Regions from separate parts of the Homo sapiens genome. Here region 1 is linked to region 2. The links are contacts of gene promoters, found by promoter capture Hi-C in blood cells and fetal thymus (Javierre and others, 2016). All regions are on one chromosome and are shown on one strand. Each heading gives the region's core, a stretch centred on a gene start or on the middle of the fragment in contact. The rest is flanking DNA. Distances are from core to core; before and after follow the strand shown.

The links. The method cuts DNA at HindIII sites, captures the fragments that hold promoters and counts their contacts. A CHiCAGO score of 5 or more calls a contact.
Region 1: a contact is called between the fragment with the promoter of NACC2 here and the fragment with the promoter of NOTCH1 in region 2, in 1 of 17 cell types (erythroblasts). The highest score is 5.6, in erythroblasts.

Annotation. Positions count from the first base shown.
Region 1 is chr9:136,091,573-136,097,982 of GRCh38, forward strand. NACC2 (NACC family member 2) reads right to left here and starts at 3,717. Exons shown (of 6, transcript NM_144653.5): 1 at 3,617-3,717. RefSeq lists an enhancer at 1,733-2,424 and silencers at 3,630-3,759, 4,080-4,179. The HindIII fragment of the contact is 6,619 bases long and covers 1-4,815 here.
Region 2 is chr9:136,544,484-136,548,727 of GRCh38, forward strand. It overlaps NOTCH1 (notch receptor 1), which reads right to left and starts at 1,565. Exons shown (of 34, transcript NM_017617.5): 1 at 1,243-1,565. The coding sequence starts at 1,303. MIR4674 (microRNA 4674) reads right to left here and starts at 1,776; the gene lies at 1,690-1,776. It overlaps NALT1 (NOTCH1 associated lncRNA in T cell acute lymphoblastic leukemia 1), which reads left to right and starts at 3,359. Exons shown (of 3, transcript NR_121577.1): 1 at 3,359-3,618. RefSeq lists enhancers at 400-449, 2,422-3,333 and silencers at 680-729, 950-1,209, 1,230-1,789, 2,130-2,229. The HindIII fragment of the contact is 3,030 bases long and covers 595-3,624 here.

The DNA of each region.
Region 1 (6,410 bases), core at 2,467-4,966, 450 kb before region 2:
GACAAGCAACCAATACTTCCAGACAGATGCCTTCACGCCTGCCCACTGCGCTCTGCTGAGACCCTATACAAGGGTGTGTGCTTCCAAAACCCAAACCGTAAACAGCAAACGCAGGAAGGCCACAGCTGAGGGAGCTAGGGCTCCCAGCAAATGGGCAGCTGCAGGTGACACAGTAAGGAGCCCCAGCCAGCCAGGAGGCATATTTTACAAATGATCTCATCTCACCAAGAGCCAGGGCTGGTGAGAGCAAGGATTTGCTTAAAAAAAAAACCAACAACAACAACAAACAAAAAAACAGAGGTCACCAGGATCCCTGCCCCGCAACAGAGGCGGAGGCAGGCGTGGAGCAGCAGCCCCTGGCCTGGGTAACCTCGCTCCCCGGCCCCCACAGCCAAGGCCCAAACAACCTTCCAGTCACATCTCCTCTGTGACTCTGGACAGGCTGAAAGGGAAACGAGATCCACCTGGGGATTAGGGGGCGCCTCAGGGAGGCCGGTGTGGGGGCCACACACAGCTCTGAACTGGGGCCCAGTGGGGAGACAAGAGTAGAGAAACGCTGGCCAAGCTCCCCCACCCAAGGCCCGACTGCCCACCTCTGGGAGGACCAAGGGCGTGCCCAGAGAGGGTGCCAGGAAAGGAACGAAATGCTGGGGAGAGGGCACTTCGGGGAAGGCCCAGGACCCAGGGAGCTGGGTCTGCAGACACTCACCGCCGGGGAGCCTGACCGGAGATGGGGTGAGAGGCCCCAGTGAGCCAGCTCTACACAGGTTCCCAAGACCCCTCATCAGCCCCCAGTGAGACCAGACCCAGTCAGACCTCACAAACTCCCGCACCTGCCCACATGCATCAGACGGCGGCTCAGGTCCAGCGTCCAGACGGGCTAGCGCTACTTCTCTCCTGCCTTGGAGGGCGCTCCACGGCCTCACACCACAGGGCTTTGCTTCTCCTTCGAGCCACGCCTGGAAGCCCAGCCCCAGGTTTCCTCAGCCCAGGCCAGAAATGTCACCCTGAAGTGGAAGGTGGCCTACCTTGTCCTCAGAACCACAATGGGAGGCTGGTCAGCCTGGGCCACTGAGGCAGGGACATGTGCTACCAAGGTGAAGGTGGACTGGGCCGGAGGAGCAGCAGAGTCAGGGGGCCCCATAGTCAAGTTCCCAAATGTGTTCGTTACACTGGGGTCTGTAGAAGGCCTTGGTTCTCCGGAGAAACATGCTGGTGTATCCTGGGGTAAGGGGTGCCACCTGCTGCCCCCCTGTGGACTCCGACCCTCATCCCACCGGCCACAGTCCAACTGGATCTCGGAACCCACTGCGTGACCCTGCAAAGGGGATGGAGTGACCCCAAGGGGCTGTGAGATGCAGAGAGGCAGCCTGGGGACAGTGTGTGGAGGTGGCTAGAACAGGGCTGGCTGAGGAAGGAACATGGGCTCTGCCCCACTGACGGTGGCTGGGGCCACTGGGCACTCGGTGCCCTGTGCGTTCCAGGGACACAGGTCAGAGGCACAGACCTCAGAGGAAGGGGCACAAGGTGGAACCTTGGGAACTCAACATCCCGAAAAGGACAACACCTTGGTTCCCCATTCCATCCCTCGGGCCTGGGAGACCACACTGCCCACAAACCAGGAAAGCAGGACTCCGGAGGCAGAGGCCAAGAGGAGTGCAGGCCTGGAAGAACCGCTCAGCACCAAGATCGTCACTGTTGTTTCATGAATAATGCAGCCTCATGCTTTAATTGGAAAACAAAGGGAGGATTGAAGAATTTTTTAAAAGTCACCACTAGCCCCCTGCCCAGGGCAGAGCAGCCCTGCGAACCCTTCCAGCAGCCGGTGGTAAAGAACAGAGCCTGTTCTCGCAGCCTGTAGCAGCCCAGCTCCCACTGCTCCCAGCAGGAGATCTCCCGGGTGGCTCCTCCCCGCCTTCCCGCCAGGCCAGGGCCAGCACCATCGAGCCCTGGGTGTGACCACTGCGAAAGGATCCCTGGCCACTAAGAAGTGACAAGTGATATCTTGTTCCACTCTCTGTGCCCATTCCAAGTGGCTTTGCCGAAAGGACAGGGGGCCACCACCTTGGGTGGCAGCTCCTTTTATTTCCTCCCCTTGGACTCTGGCCCAGCTACCACCCAACAGTGACCCCAGGGGAAAACGCCAAGAGGCCTCTTTAAGGGAGGGGCTGGGAAAGGCCCCACAGAGGACCAGAGGGGTGCTCCAACGGTGGCCGGGAGAAGAAGGGGTGGGTGGCTGAGAGGTGGCGGGTGGGGCGGGGGCTGCCTGAACCCTGACCTAACTCTAGGCGCCCCTGCTGGGGGGTGCTACAGGCTAAAACACCCTGCAGAATGCTGAGCTGAGTGTCCCACTGGAGAACAGGAGGGAAGGAGGTCAGGAGCCTGCCAGACGAAAAGAGGGGTGGGTGAGAAGAAGGGGCGACCTGGAGGGACACGGACTCTGGCAGGAGAGTGCGGCCGCGCTGGCGGGCGGGAACACCAAGGTGCACGCGCTCCCGGAGGCAGCTCCACGGGATGGGAGTCCGGGCTGCCTTGGGCACCCCCGGGTCAGCACCCCCGCCACACACAGGAAGGAACGCGCAGCAGAGAACACAGCTCAGGGCACCCAGCGGCCCAGGGAGACGGGCCCACCAGCACGTGGGTGAAACACCTCCAATCCGGAGGCCCCGCGCGGGGGTTGGGGGAGGGAGTGGAACGGCCTGGGAGGCCAACTCCAGGGACCCGGCCTCGCGGCCTTCAGACCCACAGGTTTAAGCGGCTCCACGACGAGAGTCCAAGACCAAACTTCCCCCAGAGCCTGGCAGAGGGGCTGGGAGGTGACCTCTGACCTCCGACCCCACACGATCCCAGCAAGAGAAGCAGGAAACTCCGTCGGAAGGCCTCGGTCCGCCCTGGCCGTGCGGGGTGCGCGGCGGGCCCCGGGCTCCGCTGAGTTTCTTAGAGAAGGAGCTGGGGCCCCCCGACCTCAGCTCCGCAGAGGCACAGAAGCTGGCAAGAGGCAGAGCCCCCTCCCCCTGCGGCCGGACCCCAGTTTCTCCCCAGGCTGGGGCCCGAGTGGGGGAGGCGCGGGAGGCGGTGACGACCCACGAACGGGCCCACCTGGACCGGGAGGGCGAGGCGCGGGCCCGGCTGGGCCAGGCAGCTGCGCAGATGCGCCGGGAGGGGTGGGTACCTCCGCCCTGGCCCCGGGCCAGTCCTGCCCCGGCTTCCCCACCCGGAGGGCTGGATCGGCCAGTCGGGTCCCTGGGGAGGCCGCGCGGGTCCCCAGAAATCCAGGGAAACCCAGCAGGCGGCGGGGAGCGCCCCGGGACGCCCGGAGCCGGGGTCTCCCCGAACGCGCGGCGCGGCGTCCCGGCCCGGGGTCGCGGGCGCCTCCGCCGGGACCCCCCGGCCCCGCCCGGCCCCCCTCCGCGGGCTCCCGAGGCCGGTTCCCGCGCGCACGCCCGGGCCGGCGCGGAACTCGGCCGCACCCGCCCCGCGCGGCCGGCACTGCGGCAGGGGGCTCGCGCCAAGTTGGGCGGCCGCGGAGTTTGCGGGAAGTGCGGGCCCGGCCCGTGGGACGACCCCGCCCGGCGGCGTAACCCGGGGGCGGCCGCGCGCGCCAAGTTGGCGGTACCTGCGGGCGCCCGGCCCGGTCCGGCCTGGGCAGCTGCGGCGCGCCGCCCGCGGCAGGAAGTGCTTGGCGTCCCGGCGCTCCGGCTCCCATGGACTTTCTCCGACCTCGCCCAGCACCGGCGGCCGCACCGCGGCGGGGGCGGGGCGGCGGCGGGGGAGGTGCCCGCGGGCCGTTAAAGGGACAGCGCGCCGGCCGCGCGCGCGCGCGCACTGGCAGCCAGGTGGGCTCCCGGGGTCGGGGCTGGGGTCCGGGGGCCGGGAGGGTCCCCAGTGGGGGCCGGCGGGGCGTGGGGAACCCCGAGCGCTGGGGAGGGGAGGCGGCAGCTCCTCGCCCCTCGCGCGTCCTCCTTCCGGAGCTGCCGGCGGTCGACCCTGCGCGGGACACCCGGCGGGAGCCGGACGCCGCGGCGCAGAGGACGGAGCTCGGCGGCCGGGTCGGGAAAGGACCTGGAGCGCCGCCCTCCGCCCTCCCCGGGCCCCGGCCTCGGCCGGACTCGCTAAGCCCGGGAGAGCCCCCGGGCCCCCCTACCCCGCCCCCGGCGCGCGCCCTGCCCGCGGCAGTCGCGTCCGCACGGTGCAGCCTCCGGGATCCGGGCGGGGGAAGTGCGCGCATCCGCAGCCGCCCTGGACGCTCAGGCGGGCCGTGAAAGACGAGGATACGGGAGCGCCCTTGGGCGAACGTCTGCGGGGCTCCGGCGCCCGTCCCTGCGGCCCGGGAACTGCAAGCTGCCTGGACTGGGCCTGGCGCTGCCTTCAGGCCTGGTGTGATCCGGGCGCACTGGGGCGTTGACAGTCATTCCGGCACCGGCCACGCAGCTCTCCATCTGCCCAAGGCCACGCTCCTGAGGACAGAGGTGCAGTTTTAAAACAAGGGCACGGAAATAAAACGGCCACACACCCGGAAAGACCCAGAGACCCCTCCTCAGCTGCCCCCTAACCTGGGGCCTGAGGTCAGGACAGGCTGCAGTGGTCCTCAGAGGCTAAGCCAGCCTCACTCCCACAGCACGCTCAAGGGTCCTTGCAGGAGAATGGAGTGATACCGCCTCAGTGGTCCCGAGCGAGGGCGCTGGGAGAAGGGTTGAGAAGGAGATGGCCACCAGCATCCCAGAGAACGCCTTTGGGGCTCTGGGGATCAGAAACCTGGGGCTACAGCCCTTCTGGCACAGTCAGCCAAGGTCATTCCCTGGACAAATCATCAGAAGCTTGGCCAGGTTCTTGTCACCCCAACCTCAAGCTAGGCCCTTGATCTTGGCCACAGACTGGCCCTTGACCCCAACTTTAGGTTCTATTCAGCTCTGCGTCCAGAACACACACACACACACACACACACACTTCACTCCCTGGCTTGCCTTGTATGGGGGTGAGTATGGAACCCCGCAGGGACTCTGGGCTCTCCCCACAGAGTCCCATCTAGACCTAAATGCAGTCCCAGGTCCCACACCCCAACCCCCCTCCCCCCACCACTGCCACTTCCAAACCCGCCCCGCAGTCTACTGTGGGAAGGAGGTGGGGTAGGAGGGTTCTGAGTGCCTCCTACACCCAGGGCATGAGCTCAGCAGCCTCAGGGTTCTGGTGCTTCCTAGGCCTGACTTTACAATCTCTGCAGGATCTCTCAGTGAGCATAGCTACCCCAAGCCCCTGAGAATCGTGAATCCCAGAGACAGATGCCTGGAGCTGCTTCCAGCCCTGGGGCAGGCCTCAAGGGGCTACCCACTAGGACCCGTGGCCCTCCAGGGATGGGAATGATTGTTTTAATCACTTTTATTTTCTAAATATTAAAGACATTCTTCCTTAGTGAAGGATATTTGGAAAGCATTGAAAAGTGTTTAGAAGATAGCGGATAAGCAGAAATCAATTCCCCAATTTCTGTGTGCCTATACGTATGTACACCAACATATATTTGCACCTTTTAAAGCAAACCCTGCATCCCTACTGAATTCCAGGCCCGTGCTACTGAGTATGTACACCTTACCGCATTTAACGTTCACAACAGTACCATGAGGTGAGCTCTGTTTATTCCTTTTTTTTTTTTTTTTTTTGAGTCCGAGTCTCACACTGTTGCCCAGGCTGGGGTGCAGTGGCGCGATCTCAGCTCACTGTAACCTCTGCCTCCCGGGTTCAAGCGATTCTCCTGCCTCAGCCTCCCGAGTAGCTGGCATTATCGGCACGTGCCACCACGCCCAGCTAATTTTTGTATTTTTAGTAGAGACGGGGTTTCACCATGTTAGGCAGGCTGGTCTTGAACTCCTGACCTCAGGTGATCCACCTGCCTCAACCTCCCGAAGTGCTGGGATCACAGGTGTGAGCCACTGCGCCCAGCCTTATTCCCGTTTTACAGCTTAGCCTGGGGCTCACTCAGGGGTCCCCAGCAGGGCCTGGGCTGAGTGGGGCTCACCCCGGGTGCATCCTCCGCATCTCCTCCCTGCATTTGATCTTGTTGATTCCTGGCTGCTACAAGGGCCTGGGGGCCACAGTCTCAACTGAGCATAGCAGCACCGCTGCTATGGGTCTCCAGCTCAGGGAGGCCCCATCCGGGATCCAGGCCTGAGTTCTCACGGCCTTGCAACTTGATTTTTCCCCTTCCATCCAGAAAGCATTGGGCAGGGGGTAAGGGGAGGTCACAAGCCACATCTGCAGACACTGCAGAGCCCCTGGGTGCGCTCAGGAGTCATACACAGAGGACCAACCTGTTTGCCTGGACACCTGCGTGTCCTCCCCTGGATGGCAGAAGCCTTTGATGGCTCTCCAGGTGCTGCTACCATTGTGCAGGTGGTGACATCCCACCCCAATCTCAC
Region 2 (4,244 bases), core at 315-2,814:
GCAGGGCAGGGCCCCCCATCCAGCCGCCGAGATTGCCTCTGTTCAAACCCGTTCTGCAAGGGGGCAGAGCTGGACGGGGGGAGGGGGGGTGGCCACACTCAGCTCCCGCCCGTGGGAAAATGCGACAGCTGCTCGCCCGCTACCCCGCCCGCCAACAAAGCGCCGGCCTCCGCCTCAGAATCAGAGCGGCCCATTGTGGAGTCGGGGCCGCCTCCAGGGGCACCGGGACAGCACCCTGGGGACGCGGCCCCGCCTCCGCCGACACCCAATACCTGCCTCCGCGGGCGCGCATCTCCAGGGCAGCCCCCATACACCCACAGGAGGGGGATGAAGGTCCCCCATTCGGAAGGAATTCGACCCCATCTCGAGAAGGGATCAATTACTCAAGCCCCTCCCTCCCCATCTTACCGGGGCTGAGAAACGGGGGAGGGGGGTGTGACACAGAGCCGCACTTTCTGGAAGAGGACAGATAATTCTCGCCTCCAACTCTCGGAGAAAGAGTGGATTAATCACTCGATTCCCCAGAGACCCCGCTCGCTGTGCGGCGGGGAGAAATGTAAGAGCCCCCCACCCGCGTCCCGCTCTCCGCCCCCAAGCTTTCCAAACTTCAACTCCGCAAAGCAAAAGGAAAGTTCAGTCCCCCCGGGCGCGGCGGCTTCTTACGCAACCCCTCCCCCAAACTGAGAGCCGGGCTGGGGGGCACCGGCGGGCGGGGCGACCGGGAGCCCGGGGACCCAGCCCGGCCGCGCGGGTCAGTGAAGGCGAACGCGGCGCCGCAGAGCCCACACTCCGCGCCCCAACATCCGCCCCGGCGTGGGCCAGAGGCGAAGAAGAAAGAAGATAAATGGCCCGGAGAAGCAACAGGAAACCAAAACCGACTCTATTCAAATCGAAAAATAGTAGGCAGCCCGCCCGCCCGGCCGACCGGCGGCAAGCCCCACGCGCGGCGGGTGAAGGGCGGGCCCGGAGTAGGGCCTCCGGGGCCCCAGCACCCCACACCGGCCTCCTAACTCGGCTCCAGGCACGGGCGGCGCGAGTCCGCCTCCACGGGGGGATCGAGGGGGAAGGTCGGTCCTCCCTGATCCCGGGACTCCAGAACCCCACGCCCCGGGCCGCCCGCTTTTCCCTCTCCATGCTGGCCTCCCCGCCGCCCGCTCCCAGCCGTGGGGCGCGCGCGCCGGGCGCCGCCAAAGTTTCCAAAGGGCGCGGAAAGTGGGGGCTCGCGGGTGGGTGGGCGCCTACCTCGTGCGGCGAGCGCGGGCAGCAGCGCCAGGCAGAGCAGGGGCGCCAGGAGCGGCGGCATGCCTCCCCACCGGCTGCCCTCTGCGCCCGGGCGGCGGCCTCCTGCGCTGGCCGGCGGGGCTGGGACGCACACGCGCGGCGTACGGTCCCGGGGCGGCGGCGGACGGTCCCGCCCTCTCTTCCCCGGCTGGCTGGCGGCGCTGTGCTCTCGCAGGCCCCCGGGCCCGGCTCCGCGCCCGGCTCGTTCCTTCGCTGCGCTCGCGCCCGCGCCCGCGCCCCGCGCCCCGCGCCCTTGCGCTCCCTCCCGCGGCCGAGGCACTAGTGAGGCTCAGAGTCGAGGTGCGCTCCGCCCCCGCCGGCCCCGCCCCGCCCGGCCCCACCCCCGCCGGTCCCCCCGCCCCCTCCGCGGCCACCTCCTCCCGCACGCCCCGTCCGCCTTTGCGCCTCCCCGAGCTGAGCCGCGCGTCCCGAGCCCAGCCTCTCCGGGGAGGAGGGACCCGGCGGCGCGGCGTGGGTCGGGAGCGGGCGCCTGGGACTACTTCTCGTTTGAAAGTTTTCAGAGGCCAAAAGTTTGAGCCGGGGCTGCGGAAGGATCCGGCTCTGGCGGTTGCCGCGCTCGGCGACAACTGGCGACTGAAATTTGCATGTGAATAAGCGGAGGAGCCCGGGGCGGAATGGGGAGGGCGAGGCCGCGGACAGCCGTGTGCACCGTGCGCTGGGCCGGGCGGGGAGCAGCTGAGGCCACGTTGGGGGACCCCGGGCCCGGGGCAGGGCTCTGGGAGAGTGGCCTAGCCGTGTGTGCGCCCCTAGCCCAGCGGCTTCACTCCCTCCCGAGGGCCCCGTGGCCGCGGCTTTAGGCGTCCAGAGGATCGATCGCCGCCAGACATCCCTGGCCGTGATTGCCCGAGCACTTGACCGCGAGGGATGGGGGCGCCGCGGCCTCTGGGCAGGGGACTCCGGGCGCCCCGAGGGAGCAGCCGGGACCAGTGCCTCGCGGACGGATTGTGCCCCGCTCCCCCAAGGGGGACCCGCGTCGACACGCTCCTCGGTCACCGTCCTCCTCCTGCCCGGGCGCCGCCTGCCTAAGGTGGCCCCAGAAAGCACAAACGGGTCGGGCGGATCTGCCGCTGGCGCCGGCGCAGCCCTTCCCACGTGCTCCTTCCGGCTGATTTATTTCTCCACCACGATGCCAGGCACGGGCACCCTGTGCCAAGCCTGGTTAAGCGCCAGGAGTCCAAAATGCCTGCCATAGTCCCTGCGCAAAGTTCACGGCCTCGTGCCAGGGACAGACAGCGCCCCCTCCCCACCCCAACACAGGGTGGTGAGTGCGATGGCAGAAGGCGCGTGTCCCGGCGCCCCTCCTGGAGTAGGAGGGCTAAGCCTGCCCTGCGGGGAGACCGAAAGGCTGGGAGGGACCTAGGACTGTGGGGGCCTGGGGGGAGGGCTGCAGAAACCCCAGAGCATGGTGGCAGAGGCAGGCACAGAAAGCAGGACAAATCTCACACCTGACCCCAGCAAGCCTTTCCTGGCACACCTCTTGCCAAATGCTGAGCACTCTGGAAACAGCCAGTGCAGGCGGCCTGTCCCGCCCCTGTAGCTGCTGCTGGGAGCCTCCCTCGCCTGCGTCCTCCCAGAATCTGGCCTCACTTCTGCAGGCCTGGGGTAACATCTTGGGGTCAGCGCCCCAGGAGAGGAGGCGCCTGGAGGCAGCAGAGATGTTTATGTAACAGCAGCCAGGCAGCCTGGAGGAGCAGATTTTCCATAGAAGGAAGCGCGGGGCTGTGCAGCTCCCAGGCTGAGGACTCTGCCCACCACGACGTCCTCTGCTCCTGGTGGGTGGGGGTGGGGTGGGGCATAGGGAGGCCCGAAGGCCTCAGGCCTGGTGCTGATCGGGTGCGGGTGCGACTGCCTGTGTGCCTCCATTGGCATCTCTGCCTGTGGGCCCCAGGCCAGAAGTAATGGCCCATGTAGCCCAGGCCCGGGGGCCAGTCCTCAGCATTTTGCGGAGGGGCGGCCTGGGAGGGGAGGAGGGGATCCCTGGATAGGGGGTCTCCCCTGGTCTGCCCCAGCTGTGCCGACAGCACCTCCACCTTGGGCCTCCATCCTCTACCAGCAGAGAAGAGAGTGGCCCATTCGGTGTCCACCCGTCAGGCCACCCAGCAGCCAGGCACGCTCATAAGCCCGCGTTACGGATGGTGCGGCCGGGTGCACAGGCCCGAGGGAAGCACAGGCCTCGGCCTCCCAGCTCCCAACCCCTGCACCACCCACAGCCGGGAGTACCCCATGGACAGCTGTGGCCGAGGAGAAGCCAGGGATGAGGGGGATGGGCCTCACCTCCCCACCAGCCTGGGAAGGGGGTAGGCCCCTGGCAAGTAGGTGAGAAGCTTTTTCATTCACAAGTTGTCCGGGCTCCCCATTCCTCTTTGTCAGGCCAGCGGGTGTGGGCAGTCGGGGGAGGCTGGGGTCCTGACACAACAGGAGTACATCTGCTGGCCTAGGGCCTGGAGACCTTCTCCTACAGGTCGGGAGGCAGCCCTGGGCAGCGGGCATTGCGGGGACTAAAGAGAAACAAGAGCAGGTTGTGTGCAGGGCACCCCAGCCACTCCAGAAACCCAATGGGAGGGTGGGGGCTAGGACCCCAAGAAGCTGAATTGGGGTGCAGTGCCGCCAGGCCTCCCCTGTAGGAGTCACTTTGGGCTTCCTGTCCCAACTTGTGGTGGGAGCTGGGGCAAGGTTCCAGGGGTACCCCGAATGAATGGGGCTGTTCCCAAGCTGGCCAGGGAGCCTGGAAGCAGATGAGATGGGGCCGCAGAGCCTGGTTTGCGGAGGGGAGAGGCAGACGTGTCCTGCAGCCCTCTCTTCTTCAGAGGCCCCCTGCGGGTGCTGAGGGGAGAGTGGCTTAGGCGTTGCACCCCAGGAGACTGAACTGGGTCAGTTCCCCCTTGTTTGCTGCCAGAGAAATGGGGGTACCATTGTCAGGGTGAGCTAAGGAGGCCCTGCTG